Linked DNA regions of Homo sapiens: all the other regions are linked to region 1. The links are contacts of gene promoters, found by promoter capture Hi-C in human tissues and cell types (Jung and others, 2019). All regions are on one chromosome and are shown on one strand. The core of a region is centred on a gene start or on the middle of the fragment in contact, and the rest is flanking DNA. Distances in the headings are between cores, read along the strand shown.

Evidence for each region. The method cuts DNA at HindIII sites, captures the fragments that hold promoters and counts their contacts. A contact is called where the count stands out against the background at its distance.
Region 2: a fragment that was not itself captured here is called in contact with the fragment with the promoter of AQP8 in region 1 in 1 of the 25 tissues and cell types used here (dorsolateral prefrontal cortex).
Region 3: a contact is called between a fragment that was not itself captured here and the fragment with the promoter of AQP8 in region 1, in 1 of the 25 tissues and cell types used here (aorta).
Region 4: a fragment that was not itself captured here is called in contact with the fragment with the promoter of AQP8 in region 1 in 1 of the 25 tissues and cell types used here (dorsolateral prefrontal cortex).

Annotation. Positions count from the first base shown.
Region 1 is chr16:25,215,617-25,218,272 of GRCh38, forward strand. It overlaps AQP8 (aquaporin 8), which reads left to right and starts at 1,331. Exons shown (of 6, transcript NM_001169.3): 1 at 1,331-1,441; 2 at 1,582-1,829. The coding sequence starts at 1,430. The HindIII fragment of the contact is 27,087 bases long and covers 1-2,656 here.
Region 2 is chr16:27,115,788-27,118,443 of GRCh38, forward strand. No RefSeq gene overlaps it. Among named protein-coding and RNA genes, the nearest start is that of C16orf82, 50 kb to the left of the region's middle. The HindIII fragment of the contact is 3,082 bases long and covers 1-2,656 here.
Region 3 is chr16:23,791,190-23,793,845 of GRCh38, forward strand. No RefSeq gene overlaps it. Among named protein-coding and RNA genes, the nearest start is that of CHP2, 37 kb to the left of the region's middle. The HindIII fragment of the contact is 5,063 bases long and covers 1-2,656 here.
Region 4 is chr16:26,507,059-26,509,714 of GRCh38, forward strand. No RefSeq gene overlaps it. Among named protein-coding and RNA genes, the nearest start is that of LINC02195, 87 kb to the right of the region's middle. The HindIII fragment of the contact is 3,334 bases long and covers 1-2,656 here.

The DNA of each region.
Region 1 (2,656 bases), core at 81-2,580:
GGGTTACATAGCTAGTTTACAGCAGAGCTGGGATTGAACGCCAGGCAGCCTATTTCCAAAGTTCATGGGTCTTGCCGCTGCATTGCATTACCTCTTGCCAGTCTCTGCTGCCTCTGTCTGTGAAGGATCGTCATCTATACACTCAGTCCTGGCTCAGGCTGTCACGGTGACTGCAGGTGTTTGAAGCTGTGGGACTCATTGGAAAAATAATTGAAAATGGGATTGCTGTTTCTTTCTTTTCTTTTTTCTTTCTTTCTTTCTTTTTTTTTTTTTTTTTTTTAGACAGGGTCTCACTCTGAGGCTGAAGTGCAGTGGCGCGATCTTGGCTCACTGCAACCTCTGGGTCCTGGGTTCAAGTGATTCTCATGCCTCATCCTCCTGAGTAGCTGGGATTACAGGCAAACACCAACACGCCCTCTCTTTCTTTCTCCTTCCTTCCTTCTTTTCTTTCTTTTTCTTTTTTCTTTCTTTCTTTCTTTCTTTCTTTCTTTCTTTCTTTCTTTCTTTCTTTCCTTCCTTCTTTTCTTTCTTTCTTTTTCTTTCTTTTTCTTTCTTTCTTTCTTTCTTTCTTTCTTTCTTTCTTTCTTTCTTTCTTTCTTTTTCTTTCTTTCTTTCTTTCTTTCTTTCTTTCTTTCTTTCTTTCTTTCTTTCTTTCTTTTCTTTCCTTTCTTTCTTTCTCTGTCTTTCTTTCTTCTTTCTCTTTCCTTTTTTTTTTTTTTCAGAGCCTTGCTCTGTTGCCCAGGCTGGAGTGCAGTTGCACAATCTTGGCTCTGCGCAATCTTCGTCTCCCAGGTTCAAATGATTTTCCTGCCTTAGCCCCCCAAGTAGCTGGGATTACAGGCGTGCACCACCACGCCCGGCTGAGTTTTGTATTTTTAGTAGAGACGGGGTTTCACCGTGTTAGCCAGGATGGTCTCAATCTCCTGACCTCGTGATCCACCTGCCTCGGCCTCCCAAAGTGCTGGGATTACAGGCGTGAGCCACTGCACCTGGCTGTTTGCTGTTTCTTAACATGTGAGGTTCCAACCCAGTGGGGCCCACTAACATGTGCTGTTCTGCTTTGGACCGTGGGGAGCTGGGGTGCTGGACCCATCTCCCACCTTCTACAGCCTGGAGTGTGCTCCCAGATGACACAGCCAAGCTGGCGTGTTTTTCCCTCACTGGCGGAAAGTTCAGCAATCCCTGACTCCCTCACCCTGCCCTGTTGAGATTTAAAAAAATTTCCTCTTCTGGGCCTCAGAGCCGCCTCCTACCTGAGGTTTATTGCTTTCTCTGCACCAGCATTGAGCCTCTGCAGCCCTTTAAAAGGGGCAGAGCCCATAGTGTGATCAGCAGGTCCTGTCCCTAGGAGATAAGAGTATCTTGCACAGCAGGTGCAGGTTTCCCAGCAGCTCAGGCAAGAGTCCGATGTTTGTGCCATCTGATCCTGATGTCTGGAGAGGTGAGCCCTCTGTCGGCATCTTCCTCTCCAGGCTGGCAGAGCAAGGGGGGCTGTGAATTAATTCAAGGTTGGGGGTCGGGGCCTTCTATATCTGGACTTGCCTCCCACCCGTGTCCTCTGTCCCTTTTTCCCTACGGCAGATAGCCATGTGTGAGCCTGAATTTGGCAATGACAAGGCCAGGGAGCCGAGCGTGGGTGGCAGGTGGCGAGTGTCCTGGTACGAACGGTTTGTGCAGCCATGTCTGGTCGAACTGCTGGGCTCTGCTCTCTTCATCTTCATCGGGTGCCTGTCGGTCATTGAGAATGGGACGGACACTGGGCTGCTGCAGCCGGCCCTGGCCCACGGGCTGGCTTTGGGGCTCGTGATTGCCACGCTGGGGAATATCAGGTGAGACCAGCTCTGAGGATTCAGCCTGATGCTGACTTGGGGCACTGGGTGTGGAAAGCAAAGGCGTTGTCAAGGACCCCTGGGCGCATACGTATTCGGGATTTCAAGGAGCGCTCTGGATAACTATGGGGTTGGGAGTCAGACTGGGGTCAACTCCAGACCCCGCAGCCTGTGAGCTTGTGACTTTGAGCAAGTCATTCTCTTTTTGAGTAGCTGGATCACAGGCATGCGCCGCAGCACCCAACTAATTTTTAAATTTTGTTGTAGAGATGGGGTCTCACTATGTTGCCCAGGCTAGTCTTGAACTCCTGGTCTCAAGCGATCCTCCTGCCTTGGCTTCCCAAAGTTTTGGGATTACAGGCATGAGACACCATGCCTGGCTGGCAAGTTACTCTCTAAACCCAAAGTTCCCCGCCTATAAAATGGGAATAGTAGCTTTTAAATGTTTTTTTTTTCAAGCCAACATATCTATATTGCTAACCATGTACCAGGCACTAGTCTAATTACTTTATAGATATTAGTTATTTAATCCTCACAAAAGCCTTGTGGGGTAGGTCCTGTTATTAGCCCCATTGTACAGCTGCAAAAGTGAAAGGCCATGTAATCTGTCCAAGCTTAGAGGGCCAGAAAGTGGCAGAGGCGGGAGTCAAGAACAAGCTGTCTGGCTCCAGCGCTCAAATCCAAGTGCCTCATGCGGAAGTCATGAGAATTAAATGAAGTAGAGCGCCTGGCACACACCAAACATACAACAGGCATTGGTTGCTGTGTTATTGTTACCACTAGAAGGGGGTTTTAGGGAAAGCAGAAATGCATAGAAGACCTGAGCC
Region 2 (2,656 bases), core at 103-2,602, 1.9 Mb after region 1:
CCTAGGCGATAGAGTGAGACTCCGCCTCAAAAAAAACAAGAAAAAAAAAAAGGAAGAAAAGAAAAAGAAAAGGAAAGAAAAGCTCAGTAACTTCCCAGTGCATCTCATTGAACTTAGCATGGGCACCCACCTGATCTCAATGCACCCAGGAGTTGGCATTCGAGGGCAGCAAGGAGCATCCCTCAGACTTGGATGCAGTTATACACAGCGCCACAGCAGCACGCATGGCCTGACGTCAAAGACTGGCTGAGAATCTCAGAAAATCATGGATGTCCCCTCCCCAACACCCTGACCTCCGCCCCTGCCGAACTTAGGGGTAACCCCAAGGAATGTAAGGAAACCTAAATTGATTGGAAGAATGGACACAAATTAAACATGGTTATGAACTTTGTTAGTCCATTTTGCATTGCTGTAAAGGAATACCTGAGGCTGGGTAATTTATTAAAAGAAAGGAGGTTTATTTGGCTCAAGGTTCTGCAGGCTGTGCAAGCATGGTGCCAGCATCTGCTCAGTTTCTGGTGAGGCCTCAGGAAGCTTTTAATCATGGCAGAGAGGAAGAGGAGCCAACGTGTCACATGATGAGAGGGAGCAAGAGAGACATGGGAGGTCCTAGACTCTATTCTTCCTTTAATTTTTCAACTTTTGTGGGTACATAGTAGTGTATATATTTATGGGGTACATGAGAGATTTTGATACAGGCAGGCAATGCATAATAATCCTATCAAGGTAAACGGGGGATCCATCATTGGAAGCATTTATCCTTTGTGTTACAAACAAGCCAATTACACTCTTTTAGTTATTTATAAATGTGTAATTAAATTATTATTGACCATAGTCACACTGTTGTGCTATCAAATCTATCAAATACTAGGTCTAATTCTCCTTTTTTTTTTTTTTTTTTTTTTTTTTTGAGATGAAGTCTCGCTCTGTTGCCCAGGCTGGAATGCAGTGGCATGACCTCAGCTCACTACAACCTCCTCCTCCCAGGTTCAAGTGATTCTCCTGCATCAGCCTCCTGAGTAGCTGGAGCTACAGGCACCCACCACCACACCTGGCTAATTTTTGTATTTTTAGTGGAGATGGGGTTTCACTATGTTGGCAAGGCTGGTCTTGAATTCCTGACCTCAAGTGATCCACCCGCCTTGGCCTCCCAAAGTGCTGGGATTACAGCCATGAGCCACTGCACCTGGCCCTTATTCATTCTTTCTAACTATTTTTGTACTCATTAGCCTTCCCAACTCCTCCCCGCCACCAACCGGCACCCCCCACTACCCTTCGCAGCCTCTGGTCACCATCTTTCCCAGGCTCTAAATTTTTAACGGCCAGATCTCACATGAATAGAATGAGAACTCACTCATTACCACCAGGAGGGCACCAAGACATTCATGAGGGATCTGCCCCCATTTCCCACTAGGCACCACCTTTAACATTGGGAATCACATTTCAACATGAGATTTGGAGGAGACAAACATCCCAACCATAGTGTGAAGTGAATGAATAAAGAGAGTGATATTTCCCATGCACCTGAGATGTGGACTGACATTTCTACCACATGGTACGTTGCCAGAATCCTCCATTGGGTGTGTGTGTGTCTTGCGACTTGAATGAGCCTGAGAAGCCTTGAGACTTCTTCCTGGGCCTCGGAAGGGCTGTCCTTATCAGGGACAGCTATTCTGCAAGAACTCTGCATGGGGAAGAGTAGAAATGACTGGGGGTGTAAATGTTGTCTGATTAATCACAAGAGAAAGTGCCTCTTAGATGGAGCTGCCCAGTGATGGAAAGGACTACCATGAAAGGAAGCGAGTTTCCTATTCCTGCAGGTATGCAAGTGACACTGTCAGAGGTGTGGAGAAGTAACTCCTACCTGTGGAGTTTGCCTGACTAAAATAACACTGAGGCCCCTCTGAAGCTTTATAGGCTCTGAGTCTTCCAGCAGAGCCCAGAGTGATGTTGGGTAATCAGAGACGGAATTAGCTGAATGCATGGGGAGGGGAGGAGGAAGAGAGAAGGAAGAAGAATAGGAAACAGTAAGGGAGGAGAGTAGGAGAAAGGAAATAAGGGTCCCAACTGAGAAGGCCCAACATTAGTCAAAAGTTTTTCAAAGAAAGGCCGGGCGTGGTGGTTCACGCCTGTAATCTCAGCACTTTGGGAAGCTGAGGCGGGCAAATCACTTGAGGTCAGGAGTTCGAGACCAGCATGGTCAACATGGCAAAACTCCATTTCTACCAAAAATACAAAAGTTAGGCGGGCATGGTGGCGTGCACCTGTAATCCCAGCTACTTGAGAGGCTGAGGCAGGAGAATTGCTTGAACCCAGAGGGCAGAGGTTGCAGTGAGCTGAGATAGCACCACTGCACTCCAGCCTGGGCAAGAGAATGAGACTCCATTTCAAAAAAAAAAAAAAAAAAAAAAGTTTTTCAAAGATAATATTTCCCAAGTGGGGGCCACATGTTCACAACAGTCAGAATAGCTTAAACCAAGCTTGTCCAGCCTGCAGCCTGCAGGCCACATGCAGCCCAGAATGGCTTTGAATGTGGCCCAACACAAATTCAAAAACTTTCATAAAACATTATGAGATTTATGCATGGCGCTTTTTTTTTTTTTTTAGCTTATCAGCCATCATTAGTGTTAGTGTATTTTATGTGTGGCCCAAGACA
Region 3 (2,656 bases), core at 51-2,550, 1.4 Mb before region 1:
ACAAAAATTAGCCAGGTGTGGTGGGGGCATGCCTGTAGCTCACTGTAGCCTCGAATTCCTGGACTCAAGTGATCCTCCTGCCTCAGCCTCCTGAGTAGCTAGGACTGTGATGTGTGCTACCATACTTGACTATTTTTTTTTTCTTTTTGTACAGATGAGGGTCTTTGTGTATTTCCCAGGCTGGTCTTAAACTCCTGTCCTCAAGTGATCCTCGGCCTCCCAAAGTGCTGGGATTACAGGTATAGGCCAGCATGCCCAGCCTAACCCATTTTAGACAACCAATAAGTTTTATTTTTTATTTTTAAATTTTATTTTTGGAGACAGAGTCTTGCTCTGTTGCCCAGGCTGGAATGTAGTGGCGTGATCATGGCTCACTATAGACTCCACCTCTTGGGCTCAAGCAATCCTCTTGCCTCAGCCTGCCAAGCAGCTGGGACTACAGGCACATGCCACCACACCTGGCTAATTTTTTTTCTTATTTTTATAGAGACGAGGTCTCACTATGTTTTCCAGGCTTTTATCGAACTCCTGGGTTCAAGTGATTCTCCTGCCTTGGCCTCCCAAATTGCTGGGATTATAGGTGTGAGCCGCCATGTCCAGCCCTAATAAATTTTAATAGCCAGCTCCACTTCTCTAGGAGAATGTCTCTTTGCCCATTGCTGGACATTTCAGCCTGTACAGTGTGCCCCTTGGTCTGAAGAAATGACAGTTAGCTGCCCAAATCCATGTACTATTTTTGATCCTGTTTTTTAATGGCATCGTGAATAGTTGCATCTTCCATTGGGTAAGCAAGGCCCAGTGCAGAGTCAGTGTCTATTATTGTCAAGACCCACTTGTGGTCCCCCAGGGCTACCAGTGTCGGTCTCACTTGCCAGCTACGTTCAGGGCCTTCCCACCAAGGAATCTTTTCCATAGCCCTCAGCAGCTTCTGTCTCTCTTGCTGACAAACAGAACAGTCTCACTGGCATTTTGTACCTCAGAGGGCACAAGAAGAACCTGTCTAGATTCAGCCCGTCTCTGCACTGCTGCAGGGCCCTGTCTCATAGACCCAGCTGGCCCCCACAAGGGAGCAAATGGGGATATCTGCTTGTCGATTCCAATCACCTTCCAAACCCGGAAGGAGGTTCTTCTGATGGGCAGCCCATGTCTTACTTTAATGTACTCTCACACTTCCATAGGGCTGTCCCCTATAAGGGCATCTCTTTAATAGGCCAGGTTTCCATGCCCTCCTGCCTGAGTATGGTTAGGTCTCTGACCACTGCCCATGAGTTAGTAAAAACCCAAACACAAAGACTTTTTATTACTGTTCAATCTTTCCATCACTGCTAGGAAACCACCATGCAATTCAGCCCACTGAGCTGATTTGCTTTTACTGTCTTTGATCAGAGTGGCATCTTTCCAAATAAGATGTTGTCTATTCATCTTGGAACTTGGAACTGTCACCCATACTCCATGCAGTTTTTTTGTTTGTTTGTTTGTTTGTTTTGAGACAGGGTCTCACTCTGTCACCCAGGCACCCAGGCTGGAGTGCAGTGGCATGAACACGGCTCATTGCAGCCTTGAACTCCTGGGCTCAAGCGATCCTCCCACCTCAGCCTTCTGAGTAGCTGGGACCACAGGCATGCACTTGGCTAATTTTTAAATTGTTTGTAGAGAGGAGGTCTTACCATGTTGCCCAGGCTGGTCTCCAACTCCTGGGCTCAAGCGATCTTCCTGCTTCAGCCTCCCAAAGTGTTGGGATTACCAGCGTGAGCCACCATGCCCAGCCCCAACCAGCTGTTATTTGAGAACTGTTTGTAGGGCACTATCCAAGTGACAATAGAATCCAGCAACGCCTCCCACAATTCCAAAGTCTATCTGAGGGGAAAAGAGGCTCTCTGCGTGTATTTCTTCCTCGCATTCCCCAGGTAGAATGATCCGCTAAACCATTTCCATTTCATCATGGATCTCTGCTGCACAGTGTCACACTCATTACAGTGTTTCTCTGATGTCACTCCAGTCATCGAGGGTGTTTTCCACCTTCCTGGGATGAATCCTTTGACTTTCTTGTCTGCATTTCCCCATTCTCTTATTAATTAATCTGATTTTTGTTATTGTTGTTGTTGAGACTGAGTCTCTCTCTGTCACCCAGCCTGGAGTGCAGTGTGATCTCAGCTGACTGCAACCTCTGCCTCCCAGGTTCAAGCGATTTTCCTGCATCAGCCTCCTGAGTAGTGGGACTACAGGCATGTGCCACCAAGCCCTGCTAAGTTTTCTTTGTATTTTTAGTAGAGACGGGGTTTCACCATGTTGGCCAGGCTGGTCTTGAACTCCTGACCTCAAATGATTTGCCCACCTAGGCCTCCCAAAGTGCTGGGATTACAGGCATAAGCCACCGTGACTGGCCCAGAAAACATGATAAGGCTTCTTGAACTACCTTTTGATTTTGCAGCAGCAAGGTTATACGGGGCATCCACATTACAGGGGTGCCCTTAACCACAGCATTTACTATGACCTTGGCAATGAGCACATTCAGCTGGTGAATATCGCGATTCTCATAAAGCCAGGCCCACATGACTTGCATATGAAACACATCAGCTGCTTCTTCCGAGATGCACTACTGGATATTTATAGGAGGAGACAGAGTCCCCCTTCTCAGGGAGAACAGATCTTACAG
Region 4 (2,656 bases), core at 96-2,595, 1.3 Mb after region 1:
ATTCTCATCCCATGACCCGATTTTCCAAGAGCTTTTTGGAGAATGTGGTGAGAAAGTGGTGAGGCACCTAGAATCTAATCAAATAAGGAGCAGTAGAAGGTACCAGACCTGTAACAATCAATTAGTCAGTCAATGGGCCTGGTTTGGCATTTTTTCATGGTTCAAATAATTGTCATAGAGAAAATGTTACAAATGATGGGAGGGGAGTCTTAGACATCTCTCCTCTTGGCAAGCTTACCTTCCATATCCCTGCCCAAAGCTGCAGAGGTTGCTATTTGGATCAGTCCATGGTTGCCAGCGGGTGGTGGGTTCATTGAGTTGTAACAGGTAGGTACTGCCTATGTATGGTGCTCCTTCTTTTTCTCACTTTTTATGTCTAAATGCATAAGCTAAGTCAAGGATTCCCTTGAGACCCCCTCTCTCTCTCTTTCTGACTCAGTATCAATGAATGGGTAAGTAAATTCAGGTTTGCTCTAGAGATTTAGCCAGCTTTTTCTTACATAGGCTATGTGTGTGACTTATCATGGCCCTGATAGAAAATAGAATTCCATTCCCAATGGCTCAAACCTTTAATAAAGATATTATTTATGGAGGTGTGGGGAGGGTTCAGGAAATCCACAAAAGATAATGAGACACCAAGGGACCAGCAAAAATGAGACTCCAACACTACTTCCCAAAGCTGGAAAGTGCAAGGTAAGAAACTGGCATTTGAGAGCTCAATGAGACATGGAGCCATGGAGAAGGGGGCTGCGCTAAAGGAGCCATAGACGCGCTGAACTTCTACAAATACGAAGGCACCAAAACAGGGGTGAGGCAGAGGAAAACATCTCAGCTGCTTTTTCCTCCCACTGTCTGAGCTTCTGCAAGTGCTGTCGTTGTTTTATCTCAATGGGAAGCGAGTCAGTAAAGGGGTCCCGGTGATGTGGTATATATATGTCCAGCCTCCTGGGGTACCAGGCATGGCTTAGAAGGCTGAAAAATGTATGGGGGGCAGCTACAGAATAACCAGCAGATAGGCTCACATGAGGCTGTTTACCAATTTTATGTGTGTATGTATGTATGTATTTTTAGCACAAGGTCTCACTCTGTCACCCAGGCTGAAGTGCAGTGGCACCATCATAGTTCACTGCAACCTCGACCTCCTGAGCTCAAGCAATCCTCCTGCCGCAACCTCCCAAGTAGCTGGGACTACAAGTGTGTGCCACCATGCCAGGCTAATTAAAAAAAAAATGTTTGTGGAGATGGGGGTCTCGTTATGTTGCTGAGACTGGTCTTGAACTCCTGGCCTCACAGGATACTGCTGCCTCAGCCTCCTAAAGTGCTGGGATTATAGATATAAGCCACTGTTCCCAGCCTAATACTTAGATTTAGGGAAAAGAGGGGCTTGATGTTGGGTTGAGATCAATCAAAGTATCTATTAAGCCTCAAGTATAAACTGAGTGTCCCAACTCAGACTTTCACCAGAGCTCTGAATTCAATGGACTGGCACTGGTGCAAGTATTTTTTTTTAATGCTGTTTTGATTACATGTGTATATTCCTTAGCCTCTTCATGGTGAAATTAGAGGGAGTATTGTGTTTATATTTGGGTATTCCTGGGTCCTTGATCATAAGCTATCCAATATCATTAAACCTAGGCCTCAATTCCAATAGGATGGATGTCAAGAGCATAAACTTATAGTGTGAGATTGGCTTTTCCAGTTAGTAGGTGTGCAATCCAATACAAATCACATAGGGATAAGAGGTTGCTTGACCGCTGCATTTCCTCATTTGTAAAGTACCAATCTTAATTGTATCAAATTTATTTTATTTATTTATTTTGAGGTGGAGTCTCGCTCTGTCTCCCAGGCTGGAGTGCAGTGACATGATCTCGGCTCACTGCAACCTCTGTCTCCCAGGTTCAAGCAATTCTCCTGCCTCAGTCTCCCGAGTAGCTGGGATTACAGGCGCCCACCACCACACCCAGCTCATTTTTGTATTTTCAGTAGAGATGGGGTTTCACCATGTTGGCCAGGCTGATCTTGAATTCCTGACCTCAGGTGATCCACCTGCCTTGGCTTCCCAGAGTGAATTGCATCATATTTATTTGCTGCTATGAAATTTCAAGTGAGATCATATGTGAAATCTTTGGACAGCGCCTGGTAGGAAGAGGTGGAAGAGGAGGAGGAGAAAAAAAAAAAAAAGAAAACTGAACTGCTTAATCACCTATAGACCAAGTGATAGAAACAGGCTAATGAATCGAAGTTGTAAAAGGGTAGGTTTGGGCTCATTGTGAGAAATTGACTTCCAAAGCCCACACGGCATGTAGGGATGGAAAAGGAATGAGCCTCTTGTCATTAAACCATGTTCAAGTTGGGGCAGAGCGACTTCCTTGTCAGAGATGTTGCGGAATCAGCCTTTGTACTGGGTAGGAATTTGATTCAAATAACTTATTGGTTTGGTTCCAGTGACATTCTTTCTTGAAATCGGGAGCACCAGATTGAGGCCAAATCAAGCTGCAGGATTCTGTGTACTCTGGGGAAGACCATTCTCTGAAGAGCCTAAATATTTGGTTCTGGAAAACAAACAAACCAACAAAAAAAACCTAAAAAGTTACTTCTCTCTGGGCATTTCCCTGGAGCACTTTGAAGGATGTTCACTATGAAGGAGGCTGCAGCC